Regions from separate parts of the Homo sapiens genome. Here regions 1, 2, 3 and 5 are each linked to region 4. The links are contacts of gene promoters, found by promoter capture Hi-C in blood cells and fetal thymus (Javierre and others, 2016). All regions are on one chromosome and are shown on one strand. The core of a region is centred on a gene start or on the middle of the fragment in contact, and the rest is flanking DNA. Distances in the headings are between cores, read along the strand shown.

Evidence for each region. The method cuts DNA at HindIII sites, captures the fragments that hold promoters and counts their contacts. A CHiCAGO score of 5 or more calls a contact.
Region 1: a contact is called between a fragment that was not itself captured here and the fragment with the promoter of SMIM9 in region 4, in 2 of 17 cell types (activated CD4 T cells and M0 macrophages). The highest score is 5.1, in activated CD4 T cells.
Region 2: a contact is called between a fragment that was not itself captured here and the fragment with the promoter of SMIM9 in region 4, in 15 of 17 cell types (activated CD4 T cells, total CD8 T cells, naive CD8 T cells and 12 more). The highest score is 13.4, in activated CD4 T cells.
Region 3: a contact is called between a fragment that was not itself captured here and the fragment with the promoter of SMIM9 in region 4, in 1 of 17 cell types (neutrophils). The highest score is 5.4, in neutrophils.
Region 5: a contact is called between a fragment that was not itself captured here and the fragment with the promoter of SMIM9 in region 4, in 2 of 17 cell types (monocytes and activated CD4 T cells). The highest score is 5.6, in monocytes.

What each region holds. Positions count from the first base shown.
Region 1 is chrX:154,654,800-154,660,182 of GRCh38, reverse strand. It overlaps LOC105373387 (a long non-coding RNA gene), which reads right to left. Exons shown (of 2, transcript XR_938543.3): 1 at 5,179-5,383; 2 at 4,814-5,092. It also overlaps the pseudogene OR3B1P. Among named protein-coding and RNA genes, the nearest start is that of CTAG2, 3.9 kb to the right of the region's middle. The HindIII fragment of the contact is 803 bases long and covers 1,522-2,324 here.
Region 2 is chrX:154,587,311-154,593,318 of GRCh38, reverse strand. No RefSeq gene overlaps it. Among named protein-coding and RNA genes, the nearest start is that of CTAG1A, 5.2 kb to the right of the region's middle. The HindIII fragment of the contact is 2,329 bases long and covers 1,230-3,558 here.
Region 3 is chrX:154,696,264-154,701,519 of GRCh38, reverse strand. It overlaps GAB3 (GRB2 associated binding protein 3), which reads left to right. Exons shown (of 10, transcript NM_001081573.3): 5 at 1,461-1,516; 6 at 2,007-2,226; 7 at 4,307-4,388. Among named protein-coding and RNA genes, the nearest start is that of CTAG2, 45 kb to the right of the region's middle. The HindIII fragment of the contact is 5,725 bases long and covers 20-5,256 here.
Region 4 is chrX:154,831,222-154,836,543 of GRCh38, reverse strand. SMIM9 (small integral membrane protein 9) reads left to right here and starts at 1,882. Exons shown (of 5, transcript NM_001162936.4): 1 at 1,882-1,981; 2 at 3,861-3,970. It overlaps F8 (coagulation factor VIII), which reads left to right. Exons shown (of 26, transcript NM_000132.4): 26 at 1-752. The HindIII fragment of the contact is 2,139 bases long and covers 1-1,902 here.
Region 5 is chrX:154,679,645-154,684,983 of GRCh38, reverse strand. GAB3 (GRB2 associated binding protein 3) reads left to right here. Exons shown (of 10, transcript NM_001081573.3): 9 at 4,736-4,852. Among named protein-coding and RNA genes, the nearest start is that of CTAG2, 29 kb to the right of the region's middle. The HindIII fragment of the contact is 5,748 bases long and covers 1,097-5,339 here.

The DNA of each region.
Region 1 (5,383 bases), core at 674-3,173, 180 kb after region 4:
AGGGAGACTGGAGACACAGCTACGGGAAGGATGACACAACATGGTCTTCACCACACCGAGGCTGATCTGGGTACTTCTGCCGTGTACCCAACGTAAAGCAACGCTTATTAGGTTGTCACCTCAAGGGGAGCAGCCAGCTGCCTGGTGGAAAGTGGATTATATTGGACCCATTCTCTCATTCAGGGAGCAGGAGGATTTTTGTCCCAGGAATAGAGACATTTTCTGTATATGTATCTGCCCTCCCACCTGCCACAGTTTTGCCAGCAAAGCCATCTATGGATACCCTAAAGGCTGATCCCCATCACTTTCTCCCAAAAAAGGTTCTGTTCAACAGGAGATGAAAGATTTGCCTGGCCATTTGAGGCTCCTCATTGTATTGAACCAACAAGTCTTCCTCCATTAAATCTGAAACCTGCCTACCTAGTCATTAGTCCATCCCTCATCCCCTCCCCCCCTTGTAAGTTGGGACTCCACACCTAGACCCTCATCTGACTCTGAGTTGCATACTACAGGTGCAGGGTTCTGTGCGTGGTTCCAAGCAGCTGCGGAATGGGACCCTAGTGTCCCAGTTTCTTCTGAAAGGCCTGAGGGACAGCAAGGCTTGGAGGCCCCTGCTGTTCACCACCTTTCTGCTAATCTACATAGTGGTTGTGGTTGGGAGCCACATGTTCACAGTGGACTACCGACGCCACACTCCCATGTACTTCTTCTTGGGCGGCCACTCGCTGATGGATGCCGCCTGTATCTCCAACATGGTGACTCAGGTGCTGGTGCATTTGCTGGCTCAGGTAGGGCCCGTACTTTATTGTGCTTGTCTCATCCAGATATGCTTTCTCCACTTCCTGGCACCCTAGGAGTCCTTCCTCCTCACAGCCGTGGCCTATGATTCTATGCAGCTATCTGCCAGCCATTGCACTACTTTGTCCTCGTGGGCCGACTGACCCACACGGGCCTCACTTCCATCTCCTGCCTGCTGGCCTTGGCCAACGCATTCACCTACAGCATCCTCACAGCTCTACCCAAGTTCTGCAGGCCTTGCCTCATCACCCACTTCTTCTGCGACCTCCGTCACTGCTCAGACTCTCTTGCTTCAGCACACGTACCAATGAACTTGCCCTGTTCTTCAGTTTTCTGGTGGCTCTTGCACACTGCGTCCTGGTCGTGGTCTCCTATGGACACGTTGTGGCTGCTGTTCAGGATTCATTCCACCCAGGGCTGAAGAAAAGCCTTTTCTACCTGTGTTGCCCATCTCACTATGATCGGTCTTTTCTACGTCACTTCAGTCCCCTGCTACATCCTTCCCAACTCTGCATACTCTGGCTTGGGCGACTGGGTGCTCTCTGTGCTATGTGTGGTCCTCACTCACATGCTAAACCCCATCTTCCCCAGCATGCTGGGATGACAGGCATGAGCCACCGCACCGGCCAGGAAATATTTCTTGAAAGAAAGAATGAGAGAGTACCTCGTGTCTCCCCATTATGGGGTTTGGCACTGGGGATACAGAAAAGCTCCAGACAAGCTTCCTGCCTTTATGGAGCTCACAAAGTAGGCTGGGCTATTAGGCACTAAGACAATTCACTGTCATACAATGGTTACTCGCCATTCCTTCACAGGAAAGGGTCACTCACCCCTACCACCAAACCTAGGAACGGCCACATGCTGCTCAAAGGGTCAACACAGCTGCCTTTCACTGTTCTCAAGTGATGGCGGGTGGGCGCTCAGAGAAGACCAAAGGCTCAAGGCCAGGACACTAGGCCATCCGGGGCTTCCCAACAGACCCCCATCCCGAGTCCCGCACAAGAGCCTGCAATGACCCCCACAGGGCGAAACAAGCCGTGCTCATCAGCCCTGGTAGGTATGGCTGGGCCCTCCCCCTGGGCCATATGAGGCCAGCCTACATCATCCCCACTTAGACCGCCCCACTCAGGCCAAATTCCTAGGAAAGGGGCCGGGAATCTGTGTAGACCGGGGGAGATTGTTCTCATCATATAGGTGAGAGATGATGCCGACCTGGCCTAGGGAGGGTGGAGAGGACACATTGAAGGAAACTGACTGGACGGAAGGTGAGATGACAGAGTGCGGGACCATGGAAACGCGTGTCGCCAAGACAGAGAATGAAGCAGAGGGAAGCCATTCCGGGAGTCGGGGGACAGGCAGTGAGGTCAGCTGGGGGCAGGTTGGGTTGGAAGTACCTACAGGCCATCCAAGCTCACATGACTGTGCTGGTTTGAAACTCTGGAATTCAAGCAAAGAGATCCCTGCTTAACTTTAATTCAATGGCCCTCTTTGAATATAGACATCCTGGCCCTGTCACCTCTGAAGCTTCACCATTCCAGATGATGCCTAATGTGATTTCAAATACATTTCATCCATTCCAAGCAAGTCTTCTCTGATTCGGAAACACAAAGACTGTCTGCCAGCGTGTGTGGACCAGGACCGGCCCTCTGGAGGGGAGGGGCTGTTATGGGCCTCGGTAGGTTTTGTGTTTAAGCACACATGTGTTCTTCATGAGTACCTCCAAGGTGCAGAAGAAAAAAAAAATCTCAGTGTGTAATAGTGACAAAATGCTGATGAAGCAAACTATCAACAGCCCTCTGGAGGAATAACTTTCAAGGTAGGATGAACTGTGTGTGTGGAATTTGGAAACAATTGTTTTTTGGAAGCGGCTGAAAGCCACAGAGATGACCAGGAGAGCCGGGCGACATCTGCCCCGTGGTGTCTAGCGTGGGCCCCGAGGCTCGGTGACTTCAGAGACTTCATCACGGCACCGTCCGCCTCATTACATCAAGAAAAGGTGCCAATTAGAACAAGTTTCAGAGGAAAAATATGGCCTCCAATGAATTGAACAGGCTAATTTAAACTTTGGCAAACTGGCTCACTCCAGAGCTAATTAGAAATTTTCCTCAACAGCAAGTAATGAATAACTTTCTTAATCGCTTTCTGCTTATAAATGTAATACATGTTCACTGCAAAAGAAGAGGAAATATGGGCAAGTTCGGAAGAGAAAATAAAAAACCAACCGTTATCTCACCGCCAAGGATAACGACAATGAAAATGTGGTGTATTTCTGGATAAATGAGCCAATTCTTGTCTAGTGCTTACAACAGTGGCTTGGGACATGGTGACCACCCAACAAATGTTATTGGTTATTATTATTCTCATTGCTAGTAGGCTTAGAAAAGTCTTTTCCAATGCTATCCCTCCCCCAGCCCCCCACCCCCAACAGGCCCCGGTGTGTGATGTTCCCCTCCCTGTGTCCACATTGTTCAACTCCCACTTACGAGTGAGAACATGCGGTGTTTGGTTTTCTGTTCCTGTGTTAATTTGCTGAAAATGATGGTTTCCAGCTTCATCCATGTCTCTGCAAACGACATGAACTCATTCTCTTTCATGGCTGCATATATTTCATGGTGTATATGTGCCACAGTTTTAAAATCCAGTCTAACATTGATGGGCATTTGGGTTGGTTCCAAGTCTTTGCTATTGTGAAGAGTGCTGCAATAAACATACATGTGCATGTGTCTTTATAGTAGAATGATTTACAATCCTTTGGGTATATACCCAGTAATGGGATTGCTAGGTCAACAAGTTGATGGGTGCAGCAAACCAGCATGGCACATGTATACCTATGTAACAAACCTGCACGTTGTGCACATGTACCCCAGCACTTAAGGTATAATAATGAAAAAAAGGAAAGAAAAGAAAGAAAGAAAGAAAAGGAGAGAAAGAAAGAAAGAAAGAGAGAAAAGTCTTTTCCATTCCAACAATCAAATAAAGTTCATCTAAATTTTCTTCCAATGTTTTTACTTTTATTGTGTATATATTAGGTCAATACATTCTAAACACTTCAGATACTATAGAAATATTTCTCTATATAGCATTCCCCCGTGCTTCTACTGAGATATGTATCGGCAGCCTGAGAAGTCGGCATTCCTTTGTCCACACCCATCCCCGTGCATCCGTTTCATTTCATTCGCTCCACAGTCAGCCGCACCTCAGAGTTGTCCTTCAAAGGGTGAGAGACTAAGACTTTTATCCAGTGACTCTTGGCCCCATCGGTGGGGGGCTGTGTCCAAGGGTACAACTTCCCCAGAGCTTCCAGGCCCACCCTGTGCAGGGCGCAGGAGAAAAAGCAGATGTGTTGTGAGCTGCAGGAGAGGCGCTGGCACAGGGCACAGAGGTCCCCACCCCAGCAGCCGAGAGGCAGAAGGCACGTGCAGGGGGCCCAGAGGCTCAGCAGGATCTGAGATGTGAGAAGATGTCTACGAACACAGAGGCGCAGGAGGAGGCCGGAGATGACGGTCACTGGAGGGGCTCTGAGACGTGCACAGAAAACAGGACAGAGCTTGGCAGCAGCACTCATTTGTCGCCCTGCCACACACAGCCTGTGTTTTCTCCTTGACAGCATCTCAGTAGGACCCAATAATGCCAACGCCTGGAGATCCCTCTGGACAACCGTCTTCATCCTCCACATCTGGTCCTCCCCTACACCTGGGGCCTGGACCTGCTAAGGAGCTCTTTCCAGTTTTCTAGACACCTGTGGAATCCCTTCACCCACCCTTACCCATCGGTGTGGCTGCTCTCCAGCTCACTCTCGTCCTGCTCTCCCCAACTGCCTCGGCTCCAGGGGGACGAGGCTTTCCCTGGGCTGCTGCCTTCCCTGCCCCCTTCCCAGTCCCCAGAAGGGTGCCAGCCTCAGAGGCCTCCAGAGCAGAGCCTTGCTCACCGCAGCAGCTCCAGCTGGAGGAGGTTCCCCCTGCCTCCTGCACCCTGACCCCTTCTTAGAGCAGCAGAGGCAGAAGCAGGAGCCTGCTTTGGAAAATGACATGTTTTTATTGCTATGTCTGCAGTGGCTTTTTAGCACAGTAGAATGTCCCCGCAGGCCCGCCACCCTCACCCAGCCCCAGCCCTGCAGCCTCTGTCTGGGTGTCGGGGAAGCCTTTCTTGGGGTCACTCAGCCGTCTGAGGACTGGATGTGGCACAGACATACATAGGTTAAAGCTGCTACACGGAAGACTGGAGATGCGGGAAGTGCATTCGCTTTAAGCCTAGAGGTGGTAGCCGTGTCCGGGGTCCCTTCCTGGGGGTGTGCCTGTTACCGAAATACCAAGGGTTTGGTCTACGTCCTGCTGCTGGCCGCACAGAAAGCCAATGACTGACTGAGACGAAGAGCATTACCAGGGAAGACGGCTTTAATTGGGTGCTGCAGCCGGGGAGATGGGAGTTAAGTCTCAAATCCATCCCCCTGACTAAAACTAGGGGTTTATATAGCCAGGAAGAAATGCACCAATGTGTAGGAAAACAGGAACTCGGGAGGGCCCAGAAAGCAATCCTGATGAATTTGGGGGGTCCAGCATCTCATTGTCTGGATGTGGTTATCTGG
Region 2 (6,008 bases), core at 1,145-3,644, 240 kb after region 4:
CCCACCAGGCCCCACCTCCAACACTGGGGATCACATTTCAACATGAGATGTGGAGGGGACAAATATCCAAACTCTATCCCCAGGTGACAGTCGAGGTGTGGAGTAACTTGAAAACCCTCCTGCTCTAAAACATCATCAGGACTCTGTCTCTGAGTCTCCCATATCCACTAAGAAGGAGCCAGAAGGGCCTTCTGGATGTGGTCTACATTGCAGTGTCGGCCGATGAGACAGATAGATAGGAGAGGATGATGGGAATATGGATGTTAGCCAGTTCGAGCAAAGCACCGGCTCATGTATATGACAATGATCTCCAGATGCAGTACCTCTGTGGAGACCTTGGTCTGTCTGGCTGCCTTCTTGCCCTTCCCCTGTGGTGTTGTCTCAGTGGTGAAAGCTAGCTCAATTACACCACCCCCTCATGCCAGGCCACCAAAAGGAGACACAAGAAGAAAGGGACATGGCATGGAAAGCCAACCTAAGGGTAAGGAAACGACTTCCTCAGGATTGACCAGCAAACATGTAGCACCTTTATTCTGCTGACTCTTTCCATGTTTCTCTCTAGCCCATGAGCTCTCCAGTCTGGGATGAGCATGTGTTGAGTGGCGGCAGCTGGGTCCCTAGTGTCCCCAGGAGTTTCTGCAATTGGGCACATCTCTAGAGCCTGGCCCCAGTGTCTGCTGCTTCATAGATGCTGAATAAATGGTGGTTGAATGAACACATATGAAAGCCAATGTGCTAATGCGGCTGTGGGGTGGAAGGATGGTGTCCTTCGGATCTGAGCGTGTATCTCCAGGAAAGGCTTTCCAAACAGGACAGACACTGAGCGTGGGTTTGGGAGAAAGGCCAAGTGTATTAGTCTGTTCTCATGCTGCTAATGAAGACATACCCAAGACTGGGTAATTTACAAAGGAAGGAGATTTAATGGACTCACAGTGCCACATGGCTGGGAGGTCTCACAATCATGGTGGAAGGCAAAGGATGCACAAAGGCACATCTTACGTGGTGGCAGTCAAGAGAGCATGTGCAGGGGAACTCCCCTTCATGAAACCGTCAGATCTCATGAGACTTATTCACTATCACGAGAACAGCATGGGAAACATCCGCCCCCATGATTCAGTTACCTCCCACCAGGTCCCTCCCATGGCACGTGGGAATTATGGGAGCCACACTTCAAGATCAGATGTGGGTGGGGACACAGCCAAACCATATCATCAAGTTTTACCAAAGCTTCCTTCAGGTTCCCTGCAGCTCAGGCTGTTCCACAGTCCTGACTTGCTCTCTGCAGCGTACAGGGTGAGACCCCAGGAAACTCCTCAATTAAAACACAGGACAAGGTGCTCAGCATACCTGCCTGTCCTTTCTCTTCCTCCAGTACTTTCTGCTCTGGCCAGAGGAGATTCCCCGGCCATCTGGACCCTCCCTTCTCTACCCTTGTCTTACATTGCTGCCAACTTGCCCTCCAATATACACCGTCATCAACAGCCTATGACAGTGTCGCTAGCCTCACATCCTTGCTGAACTGATGGGAATTATTTAAATTTTTGCCAATCAGATGGAAAAAAAAATCATTGTTTTAATTTTTCTTTAAAAACTAAAGAAGGAGGCCGGGCAGGGTGGCTCACGCCTGTAATTCCAGCATTTTAGGAGACCAAGGTGGGTGGATCATTTGACGTCAAGAGTCTGAGACCAGCCTGGCCAACATGATGAAACCCCGTCTCCACTAAAAATAAAAAACTTAGCCGGGAGTGGTGGTGCACACCTGTAATCCCAGCTACTCAAGAGGCTGAGACGGGAGAATCATTTGAACCTAGGAGGCGGAGGTTGCAGTGAGCCAAGGTTGCACCAGTGCACTCTGGCCTGGGTGACAGAGCGAGACTCTGCCTCAAGAAGAAGAAAATAAAAAGCTAAAGAAGGAAATGAAAATTATTTAAAAATTAGTGAAGCTGAGCATCTTTTCATGTGCTTATTTGCTTTTGTATTTCTTTTCATGTATTTCTTTAGTTGCCTCTGGAGTTAATGTTCTTTTACTATTTGATTCTGGATCCCCTCTTAAGATAGAGAACAAATTTGACATGGCATAAGTAGGGATGCCTAGGGTTGGCCGAATCCAATTAATATCTCCCAGCAATTTTTGAAAGTCATTTCATATTTTAATGTGTCTTTTCTCATTTCTATCTATCTTTTGAGGATTAACCTTCCTTTCCTCTACCTGCATTTCTAAATAATGAAAAGGAGCTGTTGTTTGAATTTTATCAGATGCTATTGTCAGTCCTGCGTTGGCAACCTCTGTCTGCAGAAATGTGTAACAGTCAATTAATTTGTCTCTCATTTCTGCAGCACACAAAATATCATCAACATAATGAATGATATAACAGTCTGAAAACATGTCTCTAACTGGTTGAAGAGCTTGAGCTACAAAAGTCTGACAAATAGTTGGACTATTAAGCATTCCCTGAGGCAACACTTTCCACTGAAACCTGGTGGCTGGTTCTTTATTATTTATGGCTGGTATAGCAAAAGCAAATTTTTCAAAATCCTGTTTTGCCAGAGGAATGGTAAAAAAAAAAAAAAAAAAAGCAATCCTTCAGAACAATTATAATTAAAGGCCAACCTTTGGGGATCACGGCCGGAGAGGGCAGCCTGCGTTGGAGAGCCCCCATGGGTTGAATTACGGCATTAGCGGCTCTTAAGTCGGTTAGCATGCGCCATCTGCCGGATTTTTTCTGAATTACAAACACTGGCGAATTCTAAGGAGAGACAGTGGGTGAAACATGTCCTTTTTTAAATAGTTTTTTTAACTATTTTATGTAGCGCCCCTAACTTTTCCTTAGGGAGCGGCCACTGTTTGACCCAGACAGGATGCTACAGGGCGAGTCTGAATTGCTCCTTCACCGCAGTGAACTGCCGGTTGGGCAATAATGGGCACCGCGAGCCGAGTTGCAGCCAGCCTGGTTTCAGGCTCCCTCCCCCAGCACTCACTCGACTGAGGAGGAGGTGGCCATCGTGGTTTTAGCCCTGACGGCCCCGATGGTTCTGGACCTCCTTCCCCCAGTTTTGGTGATTCAGGATATATTACCTCCTGTAATTGATTGTAGTCAACACTTTGTGTTGACCGAGCCATTACAGACTCTGCTACATTTTCACAATGTGAACTTTCCGTTCCTTTCTTGAACTCTGTCCCCGCCTCTTCTTCACAATCTATTACACAGCTTTCAGGGGCATCAGAAACCAAAACGCTATCTTCTTCTGTTTGAAACGGTTCTAAAGCTGCTTTAATAATGGCCCAATCATTGCATACTGTAAGCGGGATGATTTTGCCTTCCCTACTTGCTTGTTTTAATTCTTTGCCAATTTTTTCCCAGTCTTTTAGATCTAAAGTTCCCTGTTCTGGAAACTATGGGCAGAATTGTTCTATTGTTTGAAATAGCATAATTAGATTTTCTGTAGAAGCTCTAACTCCCCTTCTTCTTAAAAGAATTTTAATAAAGCTGAGATAAGAGGCATATTTACTTTCAGTTTGTCCCATTGTTACCCTGGGTTCCTCCGTGTGCACAAGCTTACCGCAAGGCTCACCGTGGACGTACTCGGGAATCTCTCATCGACTGTCCTCAATGCTCACGGTCTTAGCGCACCTTCACCCTAGAGAAAGGCCCCACGTTGGGCGCCAAATGAAGAGGGCCAGCCCCATCCACACCTGTGGGTATTTCTCGTCAGGTGGGACGAGAGACTGAGAAAAGAAATAAGACACAGAGACAAAGTATAGAGAAAGAACAGTGGGCCCAGGAGACTGGTGCTCAGCATACGGAGGACCCGCACTGGCACCGGTCTCTGAGTTCCCTCAGTATTTATTGATTACTATTTTTACTATCTCAGTAAGGGGAATGTGGCAGGAGAACAGGGTGATAGTGTGGAGAAGGTCAACAAGAAAACATGTGAGCAAAGGAATCTGTGTCACAAATAAGTTCAAGGGAAGGTACTATGCCTGGATGTGCACATAGGCCAGATTTATGCTTTTCTCCACCCAAACATCTCAGTGGAGTAAAGAGTAACAGAGCAGCATTGCTGCCACCAACATGTCTCGCCTCCCGCCATAGGGCGGGTTTTCTCTTATCTCAGAAGAGAACAAATGTACAATCGAGTTTTATACTGAGACATTTAGTTCCCAGGGGCAGGCAGGAGACAGAGGCCTTCCTCTTATCTCAACTGCAAGAGGCCTTCCTCCTCAGCACAGACCCTTCACGGGTGTTGGGCTGGGGGACGGTCAGGTCTTTCCCGCCCCACGAGGCCATATCTCAGGCTATCACATGGGGAGAAACCTTGGACAATACCCGGCTTTCCAGGGCAGAGGTCCCTGCGGCTTTCCGCAGTGCATTGTGCCCCTGGCTTATCGAGAATGGAGAATGGTGATGACTTTTACGAAGCATACTGCCTGTAAACATTTTGTTAACAAGGCACATACTGCACAGCCCTAGATCCCTTAAACCTTGATTCCATACAACACATGTTTCTGTGAGCTCAAGGTTGGGGCAAAGTTACAGATTAACAGCATCTCGGGGCAAAACAATCGTTCAGGGTACAGGTCAAAATGGAGTTTCTTATGTCTTCCTTTTCTACATAGACAACAGTAACAGTCTGATCTCTCTTTCTTTTCCCTACAGCTGGAAGGGTATGCACATCTTTCCCTTAATAGAAAATGCCAAATAAATGTCCAGATAGATGTTACTACCACTCCTACTGACAGCGTATGAGTCCTCGTTTCCAACTACAGCCTTGCCAAGCATTGGAGATTGTCAACTAATATTATTAATCTTACATTAAAATCTGCTGTGTTCCCACCGAGCAAATGCTAAAACAAAACTCAAAGGGATCAAGTTGTCTCCGAGCAACTTAAGAGCATCCCAGAACACAGCTCAAGCATATGTCTGTTTTGCTTTGACAAACAGCCCCTTTCCAACCTAGCTCTGCCCAAGATGGTGCCAGCGTGACCTCCCGGCAGACAAGACACCTCAGCATGTCATGCAGACCCCACAGCTGCCTGCTCCCTCCCCTGCCTACCATTCACGCCAAGTCCTCCTTTAAAAGGCCCTGCTTTCTGCCCCCAGTGGGAAGCAGCACCCTTAAAGGCAGGAGCCTGTACGTCTTCCCCTAAATCAAGCATGGCAGAAAGTCCGTTTCTTTATAGCAGACCACGCTCTTGTTAATTGGATCTCCAAGCGATGAGGGAATGAACCTGTGTTTTGGTTATATTACATGTTCACAAAGATTTTAGATTATTTGAATTACTATTATCATTATTTTAGAGGCAGGGTCTCACTCTGTCACCCAGGCTGGAGCTCAGGGGTGCATTCATAGCTCACTGCAGCATCCAGCTCCTGGACTCAACACATCCTTCCACCTCACACCTCAGCCTCCTGAGTAACTGGGACTACAGGTGCCTGCCACCACACCCACCTAATTTAAAAAAAAATTTTTTTTTTGACAGAGTCTTTTTCTGTCAACCTGGCTGGAGTGCAGTGGCATGATCTCGGCTCCCTGCACCCTCCACCTCCTGGGTTCAAGTGATTCTCCTACCTCAACCTCCCAAGTAGCTGGGATCACAGGCACACACCACCACACCCTGCTAATTTTTTCTTTTCTTTTCTTTCTTTTTTTTTTTTTTTTTTGAGACAGAGTCTTGTTCTGTTGCCCAGGCTGGGGTGCAGTGGCACCATCTCGGCTCACTGCAACCTCCACCTTCCAGGTTCACGTGATTCTCCTGCCTCAGCCTCCCAAGTAGCTGGGATCACAGGCACACACCACCACGCCTGGCTAATGTTTTTTTGTTGTTGTTTTTTTGTGTGTGTATTTTTAGTAGAGATGGAGTTTCACTATGTTGGCCAGGCTGGTCTCCAACTCCTGACCTCAGGTGATCCGCCCGCCTCGGCCTCCCAAAGTGCTGGGATTACAGGCATGAGCCACCGCACCCGGCCTTTTAATGATTTTTCTACAGACAGAATCTCGCTACATTG
Region 3 (5,256 bases), core at 1,633-4,132, 140 kb after region 4:
AAGGGCATTTCAGGAAGCTTGCAATGAATGCTGTCATATAAGAGAAAAAGTGCCTTCCTTTACTCTGATCCCATCTGCATTCTATCTGTCACAAATCTCTTAAATTATCTGGCACATGGATTATACCTATGTCTTTGATTCAGAGTTTTCTCTATATTTATGTTATTTGATGGCTTTAAAAGGGTCTGGTAGTGGAAAGGGAGTTAAGGGCTTGTGCTCACACATGCAAGTCCCACAATGAGAAATTATTCCATAATAGTTTCTAAGAATTATTAAGTACTTTCTGTGTTCTAGGCAGTGTTCTATGTCCTTTCCAGAAGTCCTATGAAATAGGTTATATTATTGGCTTCACTTTACAAATAGGAAACTGAGACATAGAGAGGGTAAGTAACTTGTCTAGTGCCATACAGCTAATACATGGTGGTGTAGGGATTTATAACTAGACAGTCTGACTTCAGAGTAGTTTTTAACCAGTACTTGTACATCTTTAAACATATGTAAGCATAGATATATACATATATACATACACATATATGTATATATAATATATATGCTTAATTCCATCAGTCTCTGTCACATCTTTTCCGAGCTGGGAGTTGTCCTTGCATTTTAAGATGTTGTCGAATTTTAAGTTTATTTCTTAGAGGCCTCCTGACTTTTCACACCTCCAAGCTCTTGAGGGCTGAGGGCTGAGGGCCACTTTGCTCTGGCCACCACATGCTGGGAGCACTTGCTGAACTTCTCTGCACCACTCAACACTGTTGGCCATTCTTTCCTTCCTGAGGCTTTCATGGCACCATACCCCCAAGTTTCCTCATTAATCTATGGTTGCTCTTTCTCAAGATACTTCACTGACTTATCTCTTAGTTCTTTGAGTCTTAGGATTCTCTAGAGTTTTGTATTTTTCTCAACACTTGCAACCTAGATAGTTTCATCTACTCTTATGGTCTAAATTATTCTAAATTTTAATATCACACTGTTTCTTGCATCCATCTGATGAGTTTCTAATCCTGGATAACTCCAAATGTCCTTTCTCTCCATGCGTCTACCTGAGTAGCTTTTCTGGTCACAGACCTCAATTGGGCCCTTAATGCTGCTCCACAAGGCAATCGTTTCTCTGTTCACCCTGTTCTCCTGCTCGTTACAAGGAATATTTCAAACCTCTCTCCTCTCCTCAAACCTCCAGTTCTGCCTCCAGTTCAGAAGATTTATGTAATAAATGCAATAAGAATTTGTTAATTACTTGCTATGTCTCCTCCTATTTCACAGAGAGAACTCAAACCATTGGCTAGAAACTTCTTCAAAATCTGGTCTGATTTTTCATCTGTTGGGGAAATGTGTTCTGACTGCCCAGCTAGACTCTAATAGCAACTGTTGTGTTATGCTTCTCTGCCTCTCTGGACTCTAGTTTCAGTTGATATTGTTCTGCATTTCTCACCACCTTGGCTTATTTCTTGCAGCTGATGTAGAAGGCCAATCCTTAAGACACCGAGACAAGCGGCTTAGTTTGAATTTGGTAAGTTCAACATTCAGGTTCTTTTAAGCATCAATTTTACCAAAAACAGCTTGATCTATGTATATTCCCTTGAAATCTTTAAGATTCAGCACTCTGAGTCTCTGAGGAATCTTCCAGTCTCCCCTGAAGACTTGAACTTGCTTGGGAACTACAGGACTTGGTGTTCTATAAGGGCCTTATTGGTTCTAATGGTTCAGACACTTGCTCAACTTGGTATAGCTACTTAAGGCATCACTTTATGCTTAAAGCATTTGCATAAACTCATAACCCTCTGTCTTCCAGTGTCAGATCTTGGAGACTTATCGCCTATACTAAAACGATAAGTCCAGAGGCAGAACTTGAGCTAGAGGCTTGTCTGACTTTGCTGAGGAAGTTCAGAGTTATACTTGGATAATTTGGAACTGAAACCATATGTACAGCTTTGGCCGCCCTCTGATAGCAGTTTCCATGACTGGTCTGTGGTTCCCAATCTGTATCTATTCTTTTGCAGCCATGCAGGTTCTCCCCGATGTACCCCACAGCTTCAGCCAGTATCGAAGACAGCTATGTGCCCATGAGCCCCCAGGCTGGTGCCTCTGGTCTTGGACCCCACTGCAGCCCTGATGACTACATTCCAATGAACTCAGGAAGCATCTCAAGCCCGTTGCCTGAGCTGCCTGCAAACCTGGAACCTCCCCCAGTGAATAGAGATCTCAAGCCTCAGAGGAAATGTAAGCACTTGACCAGGCCTGCTGTACAGGGGTAGGGGAGCAAGGTTCCGGTGGTTGCATAGAAAAGGTTTCTGTAAAGGAAGACCTAGAGAAACCACCCCAGAGGGCCGGAAAGTGTAAGGTCAGGAAAGAAGTGGCTGGGTTGGAATAGGAAGGGCTGGGGCACCTTGCTGCCCCAGATTGTCATGATAATAGGAGTCAGGAGACTTACAGGCACTGTGGCCTTGCAAATACAGCTGACAAAGCCAAGTTCATTCCAGAGGGCTCGTCTTTGGCTGTTTCCCTAACAAAGGCCCAGGAATAAGTGATGGTGGATTAGAATGGAATCCCACCTGGCATCTCCTCATTAGACAGCACTTGAATGTAATCATAGTGCCAGCCTCTGTAAGGCAGTCAGGAATAGCCTTTGACACCAATTCCTGAAGGTCAGACCCAGTCACATGCAGTTTATCACTCATCGTTCTGTGCATGCCCGTCAGCAGAGGTATTCAGGGATAGAAGAGGATTTTGGCAATGAGCAGGCTGACTCCTCTGTGCACGGGGTGCCTTGCAGCTTCTGTCTTACTCCCAGGCAGCTTCTCTGGTTTGCTAAGCAGCACAGACAGACAGAGAGATAGATAGGAAAAGAGGGAAAGAGGAAGAGCAGGTCAGAGTGACTTTTTAACTTCATTCTTGCTCATCCTCCCCTTCCCAGTTGGCTGTGTGATTACAAGGAAGCATTGGTAGAATGACTGATCTCTCGTGCATTCCAACTTCTCTTTGCCCTTTAGAAAGCAAAAAAAGTCACTTCAGGTGGCTGTGCCCAAAGCTGCCAACTAAGACCCCTACTCATGCCTGGTCTACTCCAGGCATATTCCCTTAAATTTCAGTCAAAATACATTTATACATTTACAATGCATGCGCTGCATATGTATTGCTGTGGTGGGCACTGGGTGGGATACAAAGATGAGGGAGCAAGGAGGGTTCTTCAGTCTGAGGGGGAGGAAGATATGTAAAATCCACCTGGACCATGAAATAGAATTATGAAATCAGTGCTAAATAGGAGAACAGACCCTGTCTTATGAGGTTCAGAGGAAATAGCCATTAATTCTGGTCAGAAACAATTAAACAACAACAGAACTTTCTGTGATGTTGGAGATAATGGCTATTGAACCCTTGAAATTTGGCTAATGTGACTGAGGAACTACATTTTAAATTGTATTTAATTTTAATAAATGTACATATATGTCTAAATGGGCACGTGTGGCTAGTTGTCACGACAATGGACAGTGCAGCTCTGCAGGACCTTGTGATAGGCAACAGAAGATGTCTGACAGACTCAGGGTTGGAGATTTAATGAGTGGATGCAAAGGTGGATACCTGAGCCAGGACTAACTCAAGAAGATGGGCCACTGAGGTGGAATAAGGGTTGGGGCAGATACCAAGTGCTTTTCTAGGTGCTGAGACTACTGCAGTGAACAAACCAGATACACCCCTATTCTCCTGGAGCACAGTTTAGGTCCAGATAAATCATAGATGAGTGTATTATCACAAACTGGGGCTGTGCTGTGAAGGGTAAGTACAAGAACTTGAGAGCCCAGGCTGTGGGGCCTGATCTTGTCTAGAGGCAAAGAGATGGGATAGAATGTTCTAGGCAGAAGGATCATCAGGTGGACAATGGATTGTAGGTGGGGAAGACTAGGACCTGGGTGATCATCTCTGCCTGTGATAAGAAAGGTAACATTTCCACTTCAGACACATCGGGTGTGAGGTAATAGATGTTGCAATTCCACAAGGTCAGAGACTTTCATCTGCTTTATTCATCCTGTGCCTTCGACACCTAGAAGCACGCGTGATATACAGAGACTTCTTAATAATGCCTTGCCACGTTGTTACCTCCAGCAGGTAATGTGACCATTTGCTCAGTATTTGTCTTTACTCCCAGTGAGGCAGGGAAGAGGAGGACAGTGAAATTCACCCTCATCATCAGTGCTGCCTGTTAGTAAATGTGGATTTGGTGTGCTGGGAAAGTGAAATGTCATAGTTTTACAGTCTTTAGACTCTGGCCTTGACCTCCTGGATGTTGCACACTGTCTTGTAGCACGGCCACCTCCTCTGGACCTGAGAAACCTCTCGATCATCCGGGAACATGCATCTCTTACCAGGACCCGCACTGTGCCTTGGTAAGACTGATTGCTCAAAAGAGCCTCATCCAGCACAGACACCCCGGTGTGTGTTAGGCCTCTGATTAAATGTAGTTGAAGCCCATCTGATCTAGCTTAAGCCAAAGGAGGGGTGAGGTTTATTATCGAGAGCAAGAGCTGTTTTATGGATCACAAAGGAAGGAATATGTCTGGGTCTCCCAGGATCCTGGAATCAGGAACTAGTGTGCTGTTGGGAACCCAAGGAATCTACTCACTTCTGCTTCACTCTTCACATCTGTGCATTCCTTTGTCTTTGCAGTATTCTTTTCTATTGCACAATCCTCATGGTCAAAGATAGCTGTACCATACCCCCTGAACTTGTTTGCATGCTACAACTCCAGTACCAACAGATGGGCTCTTTTTCAGTGCCAATTCAGATTTCCTGGGGAGAGAGAATTGTGTTCCCCAGTCTCAGTGGAACTGGCTATGGCCCAAGCCCAACTTTGTGAATGGGGTAGGACAAGGGAGTTCCCAGGTTCACGGGCTGGGTAGACAGACTTCAAAATGTAATTGCACCCTTTCATCTCACCTTTTAGAAGTTGCATTTTTAGTCCTGAGCTTGGCTCAGGAGTTTCTCGGTTCACTCTAAATGCCACAAAACACAATTGCATTGTAAAGCAGAATTCTGCAATGAGCTGTATTTCCAGCCAAGACTGTGACTCAGCTCATGCTTCTGACTCAGGAGAAGGATGGGAGTTGATTGGCAGTCTTGTGTCCTATCAGAGGAATGGCCATACTTCCTCACTTTTCCTTACATTGAATAGAAACAAGAAGGCCCCAAAGGAGTATTTTTTTTTTTTTTTTTTTTTTTTGCTAAATGATATGATGCCCTCGTCCGTTTAGAAAG
Region 4 (5,322 bases), core at 633-3,132:
ATATACCGTGACTGAAAACTAGAGTCCTACTTACATAGTTGAAATATCAAGGAGGTCAGAAGAAAATTGGACTGGTGAAAACAGAAAAAACACTCCAGTCTGCCATATCACCACACAATAGGATCCCCCTTCTTGCCCTCCACCCCCATAAGATTGTGAAGGGTTTACTGCTCCTTCCATCTGCCTGACCCCTTCACTATGACTACACAGAATCTCCTGATAGTAAAGGGGGCTGGAGACAAGGATAAGTTATAGAGCAGTTGGAGGAAGCATCCAAAGATTGCAACCCAGGGCAAATGGAAAACAGGAGATCCTAATATGAAAGAAAAATGGATCCCAATCTGAGAAAAGGCAAAAGAATGGCTACTTTTTTCTATGCTGGAGTATTTTCTAATAATCCTGCTTGACCCTTATCTGACCTCTTTGGAAACTATAACATAGCTGTCACAGTATAGTCACAATCCACAAATGATGCAGGTGCAAATGGTTTATAGCCCTGTGAAGTTCTTAAAGTTTAGAGGCTAACTTACAGAAATGAATAAGTTGTTTTGTTTTATAGCCCGGTAGAGGAGTTAACCCCAAAGGTGATATGGTTTTATTTCCTGTTATGTTTAACTTGATAATCTTATTTTGGCATTCTTTTCCCATTGACTATATACATCTCTATTTCTCAAATGTTCATGGAACTAGCTCTTTTATTTTCCTGCTGGTTTCTTCAGTAATGAGTTAAATAAAACATTGACACATACAAACAAATGCCTTTGAGAATTGTGTTTTTACACTGGAAATAAAAATGTGAACACTGATTTTTAAAACAAATAGGGGCACTGAATAGCAAGATGGACACTCTAGAAAACCAAATTAGTGAGTTAGAAAACCAGATTAAATTGAACTCAGAGTAAAAATGATATAATTCATGAGAGTCTGAATAAAATAAATCAGAAATGGAGCCTCAATCCAGGAGAACAGCTTATATGGAGAGAGAGAGACTGAGAGAGAAATGGGAGTTTCTGTTCAATGGGCATAAAGTTTCAGCTATGCTGCTGGGCACAGTGGCTCATGCCTGTAATCCTGGCACTTTGGGAGGCCAAGGCGGGCGGATCACCTGAGGTCGGGAGTTCAAGACCAGCCTAGCCAACATGGCGAAATCCCGTCGCTAATAAAAATATAAAAATTAGTTGGGCATGGTGGCACATGCCTGTAGTCCCAGCTACTTGGGAGGTTGAGGCACAAGAATCGCTTGAACCCGGGAGGCGGGTGGAGGTTGCAGTGAGCCAAGATCGTGCCGTTGCATTCCATCAGCCTGGGCAACAGAGTGAGACTCCATCTCAAAAAAAAAAAAGTTTCAGTTATGCAAGATGAATTAAGTTCTACAGATCTAATGTACAACATTGTGCATATAGCTAACGATACCATACTGGGCACTTAAAAATTTGTTAAGAGAGCAGATACCACGTTGTGTTCTTACTACAGTTTTACAACAATGCAAAAATGCATTGTAAACACTATGTGCAAATAGAATAGCAAAGAATGTATACAGTGCCCATGAGCATAACATTCTAGTGGACCCACAATGCATCAGAGTTCAGTGAGACTCAAAGGGAGAAGAATGTTGGCAAAGTCAGTGGGGAGGAGAAAATGAGTGTGATGAAATAGGCGGTCTCATTAAACTTCCCTTACAAAACACAAGATCAAAGATAAAATTATTAAGAATTTCGAGACAGTGACATCAGAGCAAACGAAACATAGGGCCCCTCAGGGTGTGGGGCCCTGTAGACCTGCATAGATCAAACTCCCATGAAGCCAATCCTGAGTCCCAGGCAAGCTGGGACTTTTGGTCATCCTAGCAATAGTCATGTGAGTGCACCATCTTGGAAGTAGATCCTCCAGTACAGTCAAGCTTTCAGATGACTGCAGTCCCAGCAGATACATGACTCCAATCTCATCATCCACTCCAAAACTAACCTACAGAAACTATAAGGTAATAAATGTTTTCTTCACAGTTGCTAAGTTGGAGGTCATTTTTCATTCAGCTAAAGTTAACTTATATGACAGCCATATTCTTTTTACAATGGAAAAGTCAGACAGGCATACAATGCTCATTTTCAGCTTATTCACATTGTCACTATTTTGTGGGGTTACCTGGTGGGCACAGGACAGTGACCAAGTTTGCAGGTCCTCCAGCTCCTGCTGGATCTTTTAGCTTCTCCAAATCCTAGAAAAGTTGTGTGTTTAGCTCTTTCAGAAAACACCTGACCTTCTCATGCATGTTACTCCACCATCGAAGTTAGAAGCTTGGAGATAACATGAGACTGATGCAGGTTTTAGTCCATTTCATGGGCTCTTCTCTTTTCAGGCTTCCAGTGTATACTTGCTTTCTCCACTTCACCTCACCTTTCCTTCCACAGAAAGGTCAGGGTATGGAGCTCATATGAGGGTTTAGAGGAATTTGGCTCAAGGGCCAGGGCCAGCTTCCTCCAGTGTTTCGGGTCACAACCTAGATACACCTTTATCAGCGCCTGGGAATGTTCAAGGTCCTAATTTTCATTCAGGCCTGTTGGCTGGGTCACAGAATGATCAAGCCACTCCATGATTTTCTAGCATGACACAGCAAGAAACTGGGGGAGACTGGAGGACTCTACAAAAACTTTCATTTTATGTATTTCCTGGTAGCTCTGTTTTCTGATAGAACCTAACTGAGATACCATTTTTGCCAGTTCTTCTATGGATAAGTATTATTTTTTTAATTTTTTTAATATTTTATTTTTTGTAGAGACAGTATCCTGCTATGTTGCCTCGACTTGATTTGCATTTTTTTTTTTTACTTTAAGTTCTGGGATACATGTGCAGAACATGCATGTTTGTTACGTAGGTATACATGTGCCACGGTGGTTGGGTGCACCCATCAACCCATCATCTAGGTTTTAAGCCCCTCATGTCCCCCAGGCTGGAGTGCAGTGGCATGATCATAGCTCACTGCAGCCTCAATCTCCCAGGCTCAAGCCAGGCTACTGCCTCAGCCTCCCGAGTAGCTGGGACTACAGGCATGCACCACCACACCCAGCTAATTTTTAAATTTTTTGTAGAGACAGGATCTCGCTATGTTGCTCAGGCTGGTCTCGAACTCCTGGGCTCAAGCTATCCTCCTGTCTCAGCCTCCCAAAGTGCTGGGATGACAGGCGTCTGCCACTGTGCCTAGCCAGTACTATTTCTTTTTAATTAGTTTGTAAGAGTTCTTTGTACGTTAACAATCTTAATTGAATGTCTGTCGTATATGCTGTGAAATTACTTAATTTGTCATTAACCTTTTATCTTTTTTAAACAATGTTTTGCTATATGAAAGCTTTACATTTTTATGTTATAAATTTATCAGCATTTTCATTTATGGCTTTGGGTTTTATGACATGCTTAGAGTAGCTTTTTCTGCACCAAGATTATAAAAATATCCACACATAGAATTTTCTATCATAAAAGTATGACAGAAAATGTCATATTTTGTATATAATTTTATTTTTTGTTTAGTCCTGGATCCATCTAGAATTTCTATTTTGCATAGCATGGCAAAGGGCTCACACCCAACATCATATTAAATAAGGTCTTTTTCCCTGATATGAAATGCCACATATATATGTTATTATAATGCATAGTTAGATACCATGTGGTGAATAAAATATCTTAGAATTATTCAAGCCTAAGAGGATAGAACTACTGCAAGGATGGGTTTTGGTATCAACACAGATGTTTATACATAGAGAGAAAATGATGTCTGTGTGCTTAGCTGTCAAATAAGGAGACTGGGGGAGGGTTAAATGTAATCAGTGATATCATAAGGAGTGGTGGAATTCTGTTTGGAACTTCAGAGACCTAAGGAGAAGACTGACCAGCTTCTTCTGAAGACTTCTGCCCTCTAAAGACTAAGGCCTAATTCCACTGGTTTCTTTGAATTCCGTGGTCCTAAGTCCATTTTCAGGTAAGTGGTTTCCCGCTGGATGTGGGTCTCTTTAAGCCGTATCAAACAGTAGGTGAGTGTATCAGTTATAAATGTCTTAAGTAATAGGAGGCCCAAATTATAATGGCTCAAATAAAAGTATATTTTTCTCATACCATGCAGTCCAGAAGTAAGCAGATACAGGTGTTAGTTTAGTGGCTTGAAATTATCAGAGCAACTTCAGGCAACATTTCTTAAGCAATATTCAAGGCAGCATAAAGGGAAAATGGTAGCACCATCTCTTTTATCAAGACAGCAAAAAGCCTTCCCAAAAGCTATCCATCAGATTTCCCTTATGTTTCATTATCCAGAGCTATGTCACATAGCCATGCCTAACTTCAAGGATGGCTAAGAAAGGGAGGATTCAGCTTTTTCAGCTTATCTAGTTGGATGTAGTAAATGAAAAATGGGTGGGAACAATATCTGCCAAAAGTCGCCATTCATTCAAAAAATATTTATTGAGCACCTGGATACCCTATGTGCTAGGTACTGTTTAGCAGTGAACAAAACAGACAAAAATCCCTGCACTCATAGAGCTTACATTATATTCAGGAGATACATATAATAAAGTAAAGTAAAATATATTCTACTAGGTTCTGATGAGGTTCTGGAGAAAAATCAAGCAGGTAAGACAATTAGGAAGTTTGTAGGAGGGTGGTACAATTTTAACAATGGGATCTAAGGAAAATCCTCATTGAGAAGGTGATATTTGAGTACCTGACAGAGGTGAGGAAATAAATTCTGAGAATACCTGGGGGAAAAGCATTCCCTGGAAAGGGAAAAGCAAGTTAAAAAGCCCCAAGGTAGGAACATGCCTAGCTTGTTCAAAATGAAATGAGGCTAAGTTGGAGTGATGATCAAGAGGAGACTCATAGGATATGTGGTCAGCAGTAACTAGGACATAATCTGACCTACAACCTACCAAGATCTCTTTGGCCACTCACTGGAGAAGAGGCTTAAGGGAGGCAAGGACGGAAGCAGAAAGACAGAGATGATGGTGGGTAGCAGTGGAGGTGGTGTGAAGTGGCAGGATTCTGGATACGTTTTGTAAGTAAAGGTGACTAGACTTTTCTGATGGATAAAGTGTATGAGAGAAAAAGAAGAGTCATTACTATATATGTAAATCTAAGCAAACATTTACTTTTTAAAGCAATTTAAAGTTTGTTACTTGAATATATAAAATATATCATGGAGTTAAAAATATATAGAAATTTATTATATTTGGTATCTAAAGTAGTCAAATTCATAGAAACAAAAATGAGGAGCTGTTTAGAGTTTCAGTTTTCCAAGTTGAAAAAGTTCTAGAGATCTGTTGCACAACAATGTGAATGTAC
Region 5 (5,339 bases), core at 2,721-5,220, 150 kb after region 4:
AAACATGGAGAATATGAAAGAAATTTGGGACATGGAAGATAGAATAAGAAGGTCAAATATTTGTATAGTCAGAGTTGCTGAAGAAGATTATAGAACCATAGGAGAGAGGCAATATGTCAAGGGATAATGCTAGAGTTGCTCACAGTTCATGAAAGGTACCATTCCTCCACAAGCCCAAAGACTTACAAGCAGGTTAGTATAATAAAATGTTAGTGGAGTATACATGGTGGGTATATTTTCTTTAATTTGGCTGATTGCTGGAAAAATTTTATAATAATAAGTTTAGAAAAACCCTACAAAAGTGAAAGAATAAAGGCAAAAGCAGAAACTAACAAAATAACAAAATCAGAGAGGATCAATACAGCTGTAATTGGCTCTTTAAAAAGACTAAAATTTAACAAAACTAATACAAAAGATATGAATACAAATAAGTAATATTAAGAATGAAGAACAGATAATAATTACAAATACATGAGAGATTAACTACCTAAGAGAATTTTGTGAACAACTCTGTACCAATAAATTTGAAAACTTTTGTGATAGGCAAATTCTCTGGATTAAAAAAAAATCAGAAATTGACTCAAGTAGAATTAGAAAACCTGAATGTTTATGTACCTATTAAAGACACTGAATCAGTAGGAAAATTTGTACTACAAAGGATCATAAGGCCCAAAAAACTTTACAGATAGTTTCGACCAAAAAGAAGAGATAAGTGCAATCTTATATAAACACCTACCAGGAATGGGAGAAGAGAATATTACCCACCTTACTTTATGAGGCTAAAATAATTTGATAAAACAAATAGCAATTACATAAGTAGAAAGCTGTAGGCCAATGTTACTGGTGGATGCGGATTTTAAAATCCCAAAGAAGAATATGTCTAACCAAATACTCGTACACAAATGTTCATAGAAGCATTTTTTCATAATAGCCAGAAAGGGAAAACAACTCAAATGATCATCGACTGATGAATGTGTGAATAAAATGTAGTATAATATATAATAAAATGTAGTATAATATTCCATTGTATTATGCAGCCACAAAAAGAAATAAAGTGCTGACACATGAACCTCAAATGGAAGATTGACCGCAAGCTTCCAATTTCTCTCCATCCCCAAACACCCTCTAAAATAACAGTAAAGAAATCTGTTAAAGGCATAAACCCACAAAGATATGAAGAATTGGAGAAGAAAATAGCAGTAACATATTGGAAACTAGAATGCAGGTAGATATGTAGTAAATGACTTACAAGACCCCTCCCCCCCACAAAAAAATTAAATCTTAAATGTGGTGGAAGGAAGGCAAGAAGCAACTTGACTTATACTGCAGACTACCCAAAGAGTTCAGGAATTGTCCACAGTAGGTAGTTCTGAAGTAGGGTTGAAGGGAAAGTAAAAGAAGCAGTAATGGTCAAAGGCATCAGGTAAATTCCAAGATCCCTTCCCTCACTCCATGGAGGTGAAACACTGTGACTTTCCATCCCCCATCTCATAGAAAAGTTGAAGTTCAGTCTCTCTGGAGAGAGTAAAACAAAAGGTCTCTGCACTGGGGGATACTAGACATATTTGACCACGAATACTATACTAACGACAAGGTGATTAAGTAAATAGGCATAATGGATATGAGAACCATTCTCAAGCCCTTTTCCAGAATGTTGACAACCAGACCATTACAATTGAGTTTGGAGATTAGAAAATATTTCTCTGGGCTATTTGAGCAGCCCAAGTGGCAAAACGTAGTTCCTAATATTGGGGGTTACTCAAGATAACCACCCAATGGGATCACCCTGCAGAAAACTCCAGAGCTGACAAACACCATCCATGTACACAAAGCTCCACGTTAGCTTTTTGGTCTTTCGCTCGTAAGTATAAGCAACAGTCAGTGATTTCATGTGACATTTCAGGAGAACTCTAGCATGAAAGATTGAAATCAAAACAGATTGGAGGAAATAAGAACTATGCCAGAAGGAAAAGTCTTTTTATTTATTTATTATTTTATTTTTTTGTGAGGCGGAGTCTCACTCTTTCACCCAGGCTGGAGTGCAGTGGTGCAATCTCAGCTCACTGCAACCTCTGCCTCCCGGGTTCAAGCAATTCTCCTGCCTCAGCCTCCGAAGTAGCTGGGACTACAGGCATGCGCCACCATGCCTGGCAGATTTTTGTATTTTTAGTAGAGACAGAGTTTCACCATGTTGGCCAGGCTGGTCTTGAACTCCTGACCCCAAGTGATCCGCTCGCCTCGGCCTCCCAAAGTGCTGGGATTAAAGGTGTGAGCCACTGCGCCCAGCTAGGAAAAGCCTTTTTAAAACTCTATTATTACCAATATTCTCAGAGAGATGAGCTATTACAACCATAAACCAGGAATATCTATTAAGTCAACCAAGCACATTAACAGATTAAAGGAGAAAAATGATATATTATCTTACTAGATGCAGAAAAAGCATTTGATAGAACTCAACATCTATTCATGAAAAAATCTATTAGTAAACAAGGAATAGAGGAATTTTCTCTAACCTCATAACAAATGAAAAATGAATCTTATAGAACCTGTAGTAGATATCATACTCAGTGGTTAAAAGCTAAAAACATCTCCTAAAGAAACAAAATGAATAAGAATTGGAAAGGAAGGAAGAAGACAAAGAGTGATTATTCTTAGATGAAGCGATAACTCAAAATAATCTGCTTATATGAATGATAACTCGAAATAATCTACTTAGAAATAATTAGAATTACTAAGTTAGTAAAATAAATAATTACAATTAATAAAAGATATCAAGATTGATGGATATAAAATCAATATACACAATCCAGTTCACTGTCTAGATAATGGTAACAAACAGAAAAAAGAATTTAAACAAAACTTACCATTTACAGTAACAACAAACTCTAGGCATTTAGCGATAAACCTAACAAAAAATATTGTGGAGAAAATTATTAAAACTTATTGAAAGACATTAAGGAGAATGAAATAAGTGGAAAAGTAGACCATGTTCCTGAATAGGAAGACTCAAATATTAAAGACATTATCTAACCAATTCCCTAACAGAGATTTTTGAGGAACTTTGAAGCTGATTCTAAAAGGGTCAAGATCACGCAAGACATTCTGGGGGAAACCAGGTTATCCATGTTGAGTAAAAACAACAACAAAAATGGAATGAATTTTATTTCTATTGCACCACCATATACAATATTAAAATCCATTCAAGTGAGATTATTGCTTAAACGTGAAGCAAATTATTGCAAAACATTATAATTTCAGGAAAAATATAGAGAAATAAATTATGACCTCAGCATAGGGAAGGATTCCTTAAACATAATGTAAGCCATACAGGAAAAGATCGACATTACATTAAAAGTATTTCTTAGTCAAAAGAAATACCATAAAAAGAAATGAAAAGACAAGAAGCTAGACTGTGATGAGCTATCTGCAACATACATGATAGCAAATGATTACTCTCCAGGGCAGAGGAAAAAGTACTAAGGGTAAGTAAGAAAAATATACAAATAATTCAATACAAAAATTAACCAGAAACAAGGCAAAAAAAAAAACCCAAAAAACAAAACAAACCCAAACAGGCAATTCACAGAGGAGAAATAAACAAATGACCTTTCAACATATGAACAGGTGCTCATACTAATTAATAATCAGGGGAATGGAAAATCAAACCACAGTAAGATACCATTTTACCTGTCTCAGGTAGGAAAAATGTTAAAAACTCTGACAATACCAAGTGTTGGCCAGGATGGGAAGCAATAGAAATTCTTATACACTCCTGGTACACGTGTAGATTGGTTCACTCTGGAAAATAGTTTGGTGATATTTAGTAAAGTTGAAGATACTCATATCCTATAACCCAGTGATTCTATTCCCAAGTAAATGCCCTAGAATTTCTCCCACAGGTGCATGAATGCCCATGGCAGCATTGCTTACAATAGCCCCCAAACTGGGAGCAACTCAAATATCCTTTGATGGCAGAATGATTAAATAAGTCATGCAATGGAATATCTGACCCACTGCAAATGAGTGAAATAGGGCTAATGCTTCGACACAAGTGAATGTGGAGTACCTAATATTGAACACAAAACTGAAGCCGCCCAAAATGCATACAATGTGATTCTGTTGATATGACATTCAAAAACAGGCAAAATGAAATAGTCTGTTATTTAAGGATACTTGCATACTCATAAAACTATATTTAAAAGTAAAAGGAGTGGTAAGCACAAAATTCAAGATAGTGCTTTACCTCTTGGGAGGAGAAGGAAAGATGGTACAGGGGAAACAGCTTCAAAGATATGGATTGGTAGCATTGCACTTCTGAAGCTGGGCCCTGATTTTCATCTGTGTTATAACTGTTTGTATTGTGCAAACTATATTTAAGTGCATTTGGGATGCCTTCACGAGAACTTTAATAAGTATAGTTGATCTTGTTAGGGTTTAATCTCTGAAGTATCACAGGCCTGTCAGATTCGTGAAGCAAATTCCTTTTTGAGTGAATTTTGGCAAACTGTTCCCATGGTGAATAATGGTATGGTTTCATTGCGAAGGCCAAATTGGCTATATTCTGTTTGAAATTACAGTTCTCACTCAGATATGCAGGCTGATTGACTCAGGTCTCATCAGACTATTCTGTTACGATCTGATGGCAGCTGCTTGGGTGAAGCCACAACTTGCCCTCCTTCCCTTGAGCAACCAAGATAGACATCATTAACCTGACTCCTGTGATGTTGGTTCCTAGGAGGAGCACCGAACAGCCAGTTCCCTGAGCAGTGGTGCCCTTACGTGGACAAAGAAATTCAGCCTAGATTATTTGGCCCTGGACTTCAATTCAGCATCACCAGCCCCCATGCAGCAGGTAGGAAGGGCTTTGTGTCTAAGAATTCCCAGGTGATTCCATCTCTGCCTAGACTTTTCTGATTATCAAACCATGCATATTCTCCTTAGAAAGTGTTAAAAATGCAGACATGTATAATGAAGAATATTAAAATCGGCCCTCATCCTGCCTCCCAGAGAGAATGAAATCTTGGTGTATTTCCTTCTAGGGTGTGTTCTTTGTGTGTGTATGTATAAATAGATGTGATATTCACACTTCAAAATTTGGACCAAAAAGTTTATAGAAAAATATCTCAGGCAGAAATGAGGGTCGGGTAGAGGACCCTCCAGGTGTAGGAACATCCTGTTTAGGGAACAAGTAATAGTCTAGTTTGGTTAGACTTGAGGGAGCAGTGGAAAGAACTGTAAGTTGGAAGTAAGGGGCCTTGAATGCTGAGTTGGGCAGCTACCCCTTTGGGTAGAATTCTCATCTGAAAAATGGGAATCAGAAATGACAACACTTATGTCAA